Regions from separate parts of the Homo sapiens genome. Here region 2 is linked to region 1. Evidence: promoter capture Hi-C in human tissues and cell types (Jung and others, 2019). All regions are on one chromosome and are shown on one strand. The core of a region is centred on a gene start or on the middle of the fragment in contact, and the rest is flanking DNA. Distances in the headings are between cores, read along the strand shown.

Region 1 (3,058 bases), core at 143-2,642:
AGTACCTGCAGCTACTTTCTTGTAGATAATGGAACAAAGGGGGAGCCCTGCTCTTTCACCAAAACCCGAGACCAGGCAAAACTTCAAGACTCATGCTGAGGAGGGGCGCTTCATGAACTTGAATATTAGTGGTCACACAGGATTCTACTCACAAAAATGTAATATCACAACAGTGCAGACCATAGGAAGTTTATTGTGTCTTTGAGACACTACAATGCAGACTCCTCTTCCAGAGAAAGGTCTTTCAGAGACAGGGAACCGTCATCCGGATGCGTTGCTCATTTGTCATTTTCATAGGCAGCTGGATTCTTCCTCTTGGATCTCTCGAACTCTTCAGTCCCCCATGTGTAGATAAGATAAAACACTACAAACTCTTTAAAAATTAAGAGAGTAAACAGAGAGCACACATATAAGACATATAGAAGAAAAAAAAAGGTCTCAGTCCTCTTGTCTTCTTTAAAGCATACACTTCAGTAGTTCTTAGCATATCCAAGGCCATGCAACTATCATCACTATCTGCTGCACGTTTAACACAAAGCATTTCACCACTGGTAAGAACTAAATAAAGGTGACCTCAGAGGAACATGCTGGAATCACCCGAGTGACCTTGGGCCAGTCATTTCAGTTCTGTAGCTCAGTTTTCCCCGTGTAAGATGGGGAGGATAATATGACCAGCTTAAGGGCGGTCAGGAATATTCAATGAGAAAGGTGTGTACGGCAAGTTACAGAGCGCCTGCCCGGCCGCCAGCGCTCAGAGGGGAGGCGCAGTGACTGCTGCTGCTGCTGGGGTCCAGCCTCCCGCTCCCGCGGGCCCAAGGCACTCACGCGGCACCACGCGAAAGAAAGACTCCCGAATGCGGCGCAGAACATTGGGGATTCCTTTAGTGAAGACGTGCGGATAGGCGCGCTGCTCGAACGGTGACAAGCTGTAGCTGATCACATGCCGCATCCGCGTCAGATTCCCAAACTCGCGGCCCATTGTGGCGGCGGCCCTGCAGGACCGAGGGTGGACAGGCGCTTGGCTCGCTTTCGCGAAGCGCCGCAGTCCCCGCGGGGGTCCATCCCCAACCCCAGACTCCTGCCCCTGCACTCCTTATCCTTTCCCAGCCCAGCGGGGCGCCCCTAGCCTCCCAGGGTCCACGAACACTGCACAACCAGACCCCACTCACGCACAGGGCTCAGCTCGCCCTCCACAGTCACCGATCCGGTTGACTCGTTCGTCATTTCCGGCAAGGTTGGAAGCCGCTCTTGGAGGTCGTGAGGTAACTTCCGGGAGATACCATTTTCCTACTGTCTCTAAGGGATGACGCCTTTGTCCCAGAAAGAAGTGGGCTGACTGGGTGACCCGTAGGTGGGAGGTGCCTTGGAGGCCCTGCCCGGGCCGGTGGGGTGGAGCCTAGCGGAGGACGTCGGGGATTGAACTGACTTTGGGGGACAGTGGACAGGCGGAGGCGCTCACACTTCTCCTCAGCCCTCGGCTTTTCTGTGGAATCCCAGTCAGGAAGCGGCCGAATGCGGGAGGCGGGGGAGGGAACAAAAAGGTGACGAGGAAGGGGCCTGCCGACCTCCGGGGCAGCGCTGGCCAGGAGCTTGGGGCCTGCGAGTCTTCCCAGCTGTAGACAGAGCGCCTCTGAGCCCCGAGGCCGGGCCGCCCCACAGCAGAGGAGCACGAGGTTTCATTTGGCCTTGGCCAGTAGCTCAAAGGGGGCTTCGTTATTTTCAGGCCATGAGCGACCCCAGCACCAAAATCAGGGACACACATCGAAGGCTTCTCTTGGACTCTGTTTTAGAGTCCCCTGGCAGGCTGTTAACGTTCCCAAGAGATAATACAAACGTTTCGTCAGTTTCAGCCACAAAAATAATCAAATAATCGTCAATTGATGAATGCTGAGGCCGCCTCGACAGCAGCCAGCGTCCTCCCCAGATGGTTTGCGTGGGGTGGGGGGAATCACGATGCCCCAGTTCTTTCTTCTCCCCACGTGAGAAGCAAGGAAAGTCGGGTGAGAGGCCTTATTATGTTTTCCCTGAAGTGCATTCTGCTTGACGATGCTGTTGTCAATGTACAGCTCGCCCTGAGGTGTCTTGTCAGTGTTTTGTTAATGGAATTGCTGGCCATATTTTATCTAGGACTAAGCTCTCATTCAACAGTTGGCTGTGTTTTATAACACTACTTACGGACCACGGAGGCTCGGCAGGCAGTCAACTTGTATTTTGCAGACATACCTTAGTTTTCTCATGTAGGTACTGCACAAACTGGCTTCGTATCTTGCACTATGAGTGTAGGCTGACTCTTCCAGCATAGTCTCCTTCGGGGTGGCGCTGAATATCCCCTCATTTCAGCTTTTCATGGTGCTCCTTTGCCTCATTTTTTTAAACCATAATGTCTAGCCTGGTCTCAGCTCCAAGGCAAGAACAGAAATACAGGTAAGGACAGAAATATTGTGGCAAATTCTACCACCATTTGGATGAATAATAATAAAACGTTCATTTATTTTATAGCATCTGCAAACATCCCAAAACCTTTCAACCAAAATATGTATAGATGAGTGTGCAGACCAAAGTAAGGACATCAGTATGTTACATTTAAAAATAAGTCAAGGTTAAAGGCGGTGTCCTCTTTTAAGAACATCGCAAATACAATTCCAGTACTCCAAGTACGTATTCTGTACCCAGCCACCTGGGAGGACTGAGAGACCTAATGGTTTTCTGCTTTCTGGAACTTCTATGCCAATTGTGACTTTCTCACCCAAATTTGTAAATTCGCAAATTAACATGCAGCGAATAATTACAATTGTAAACACCTGGAAGTGGAAAAGGCCGTGAGGATAAATTGAGAGGAAGAGTAAACCTAATACCATAAGTTGCATACCAGCAGATCTGAGTATCGTCATGAATAATTGGTTAGCTTTTCCACATGCCTTAGAAGTTTCAGCAAGCACCTAGCGAACATCTTAATCCAAATTTCTCAAAAAATGAGAGATTTTATTTAAGATCATTCCTCAATTTATCTTAGACTTTCAGCTACATAGTTAGTCCGGTAGTGTAACAGTAACGGGTT
Region 2 (3,058 bases), core at 364-2,863, 1.1 Mb before region 1:
AAGTGGACAATGAGTCAGGGAAGAGGACTGCAGTGTGTTTATTATAGATTAACTTTAAAGTCAACAAGCAGAAACTAAGATTGAGAAGCTCATTTGTTGAACTGAGTGGTTTTACAGAAAACTTAAGTACCGCTCAGAGAAGGGAAGCTCCTGGGGGACTGGGAGGACTTTGCACCTTGGCTAAAGTGGAGAGTTTGCAATAAGGACACCATTCAGTCTAATACGGGCTTCTGGGGGATTTCGGGAAATGTGCAGATGAATGACTTCTTAGTTTTCTTAACACAGAGTTTGTGTGTTTCTGAGCTGTCACCAGGGTGAGATAAAAGCTTAGGGGAAACCAGATTCAGGAGTAGAACACAGGCCCTTTAGAGAGACAGCTCAGCTGTGTCTCTGGGGGATAACAGCAATCTTCGCAGGGAATCATAGAGACCAGAATGGTGAAGCTGTGGGCACAATAAATGTCTTGCTTAACGTCACATTGATTTTCCTGAAATTGATCAAATGGAACTTTTATGAATTGAAGCCTGTATCTGTTTATTAAGGAGACATTTACAGAACGTACACACAGAGCAAAGTATGGCGCCAGGGCCCTAGGTGAACTTCTTGGAAGTTTGTAAGTTTGCATTTTTATACACTGGGGATTTCAAGTAACAAAATTTAAAAAGAGAAGCTTATTTTAGGAAATCTGAAAGTTATTTTCAATGGCAGCCCCTCACCTCTACTTCCTAGCTACCTTCCTTTCTTTTCCTCCATAATTTTTTTTTTTTTTTTGAGACGGAGTCTGTGGCCCAGGCTAGAGTGCAGTGGCATCTCGGCTCCCTGCAGCCTCCACCTCCCGGGTTACAGCGATTCTCCTACCTCAGCCTCCCGAGTAGCTGCGATTACAGGCACGCGCCACCACGCCTGGCTAATTTTTGTATTTTTAGTAGAGTCGGGGTTTCTCCATGTTGGCCAGGCTGGTCTCCAACTCCGGACCTCAGGTGATCTGCCCTCCTCGGCCTCCCAAAGTGCTGGGAGCCACTGCACTAGGGCCGGTCCATAATATCTTTATCATCTTGTATAGTGTGTATTTTACACCATATTCGCCCTCACAAGAAAATAAACTGCCAAGGCGGGCGGGGGGGTGGGGGGTTCTTTTTGTTCACTGCTGTATCTTAAATAGGGAGAGGTGCTAAATCTTTGTTGAAAAAAAATAAATGACTGTCGGGAAAGATTTTTAAAAATTACTTATAATCCCATCACCGAAATAGGACTACTTAACATTTGTGTTTCTTTCGCCTTTGAGAGAGGAAGAGCAGTTACTTCGCTTTCGTGATCAGTCTGTTCTACAGCTGGATCTTCCTTTTTAAAATGGCTAAAAACGCTATTTTTGGCTGTATAGTACCCAATCATGCAGGCGGCAGGGAGGGGCTCGCTTTGGCCCTCTTCAGCACGTCACACCCTACCTTTAATCCGCAGCCAACTGTGTGGCGGTCCCCACTTTCGCCTAGCGGCAACTCCCTCCTCCCTGCAATCCTTCCTTCTTATTCCGGTTTCCAGAGCACGTCTCCAGGCTTCGACGTCACCACGCTGGGACGTATGTGCCGAGGGCCGCGGCGTCTGACCTCATGGCGTAGAGCCTAGCAACAGCGCAGGCTCCCAGCCGAGTCCGTTATGGCCGCTGCCGTCCCGAAGAGGATGAGGGGGCCAGCACAAGCGAAACTGCTGCCCGGGTCGGCCATCCAAGCCCTTGTGGGGTTGGCGCGGCCGCTGGTCTTGGCGCTCCTGCTTGTGTCCGCCGCTCTATCCAGTGGTAAAGGGGGGCGGCAGTGTGGGCTTAGGAAGGCTAGGAGGGCTCGGGCGCAGGGCAGGAGACAGGCCGGGCCAGGGAAAGGGCGCTTCCAAGTGTCAGGAGCAGACGGCGGTGTCTGGTTGGGTCAGGGTCTCCGCGGGCCTGAGGACGGAGGGTATGGTGTCTGAAGGGGTCCAAGGTGGTAGGGTCTCCAAGGGGCCTGAGAAGCGGGGTCCCTGAGAGATGCAGGAACCCAGGGAGCAGGCAGCAGGGTGTGTAGATGGGCGGGGAGGGAGGAGTGGTGTTAGCGCCTAGAGATCGTTGAAGAATGGGCTGCCGCAAGGAATGGCGGTGGTGGGGTCTCCAAAATTTCTTGGATCGGAAAGTTAGGAGACTCTGGAAGAGAGGGTGGCGACAGGGGCTGAGGAGGTGGCCGGGGCTGGGGGTGTGGTGTCTGGAAAGGGTCCTGAGTTTGGGGGACTCAGGAATCTTGCAGGACCAAGGAAAGGTGGGGGTTTTCCAGAATGGGAGAGGTCAGTGGTAAAGACCGAGGCGGGCAGGGGCAGTAATCCAGTGACTGGACTGAACCAATGGAATATTTCCGAGAGGGAAAGTGAAAGGGAAAGAGCTGTCTTAGGGTACTGGTGCATATTTGAAGACTGGGAGGTTCTGGTGTTTGATAAAGATTCAGAGTACTGGGGCGTTGGGCCCCTGAAGGCTTGGGAGGCAGAGAGGAGTTTGGAGACAAGGGAGATCATGATTCCTCTTCCCTGTGTTCCGAGTTAACCAGGATAACCCTGCCTCGTTTTAATGCATCTGTAGGATTTGATTGATAAAATATTTCATTTCTTGCAAATGTTGCATGGTGAAATCAAGAGATTGAAGGCTTTTATTGAGAAATTAGGAAATCTGTAAACCAGTGCCTGATACTTGGTGGGAAAAATCCACTATTAAGAACTTGTAAGGATTAAACGGTATTTTGTTTAGTAGTCCCATTTTTCTTTCAGGCCAAGACACAGTCCTGCGTTTCTCCCTAAATTTGAATTTTCAGCTGCAAAACAGTGTGACCTGGTATAGTGTTTTCTTTCTTGCCAGCAGGGCCTGTCCAGCCCTACATTCCTCTGCGACAGTACTGTGGGTACATACTTATGTTTCCTCAGCAACATTTCAGTGTTGCTAACTGGACGCCCTCCCAGAAGTCTTTGCAGTCCCTGAGGAAGGACTGCTGTCCATTTCCTAAGGCCCTTTTATCATTAGTGAAATGTAATGAGGATTTCCCTGGTTGAT

The links. Contacts are between HindIII fragments. The study calls those that stand out against the background at their distance.
Region 2: a contact is called between the fragment with the promoter of C5orf15 here and the fragment with the promoter of GDF9 in region 1, in 1 of the 25 tissues and cell types used here (hippocampus).

Annotation. Positions count from the first base shown.
Region 1 is chr5:132,864,803-132,867,860 of GRCh38, reverse strand. GDF9 (growth differentiation factor 9) reads left to right here and starts at 1,392. Exons shown (of 2, transcript NM_005260.7): 1 at 1,392-3,058. It overlaps UQCRQ (ubiquinol-cytochrome c reductase complex III subunit VII), which reads right to left and starts at 1,219. Exons shown (of 3, transcript NM_014402.5): 1 at 1,174-1,219; 2 at 826-992; 3 at 1-373. The coding sequence starts at 979. The coding sequence ends at 279. RefSeq lists enhancers at 881-1,381, 1,382-1,882, 741-1,940. The HindIII fragment of the contact is 5,371 bases long and covers 1-3,058 here.
Region 2 is chr5:133,967,180-133,970,237 of GRCh38, reverse strand. C5orf15 (chromosome 5 open reading frame 15) reads left to right here and starts at 1,613. Exons shown (of 3, transcript NM_020199.3): 1 at 1,613-1,792. The coding sequence starts at 1,654. LOC105379183 (a long non-coding RNA gene) reads right to left here and starts at 1,549. Exons shown (of 2, transcript NR_134247.1): 1 at 1,446-1,549; 2 at 15-487. RefSeq lists enhancers at 1,470-1,689, 2,320-2,419. The HindIII fragment of the contact is 9,621 bases long and covers 499-3,058 here.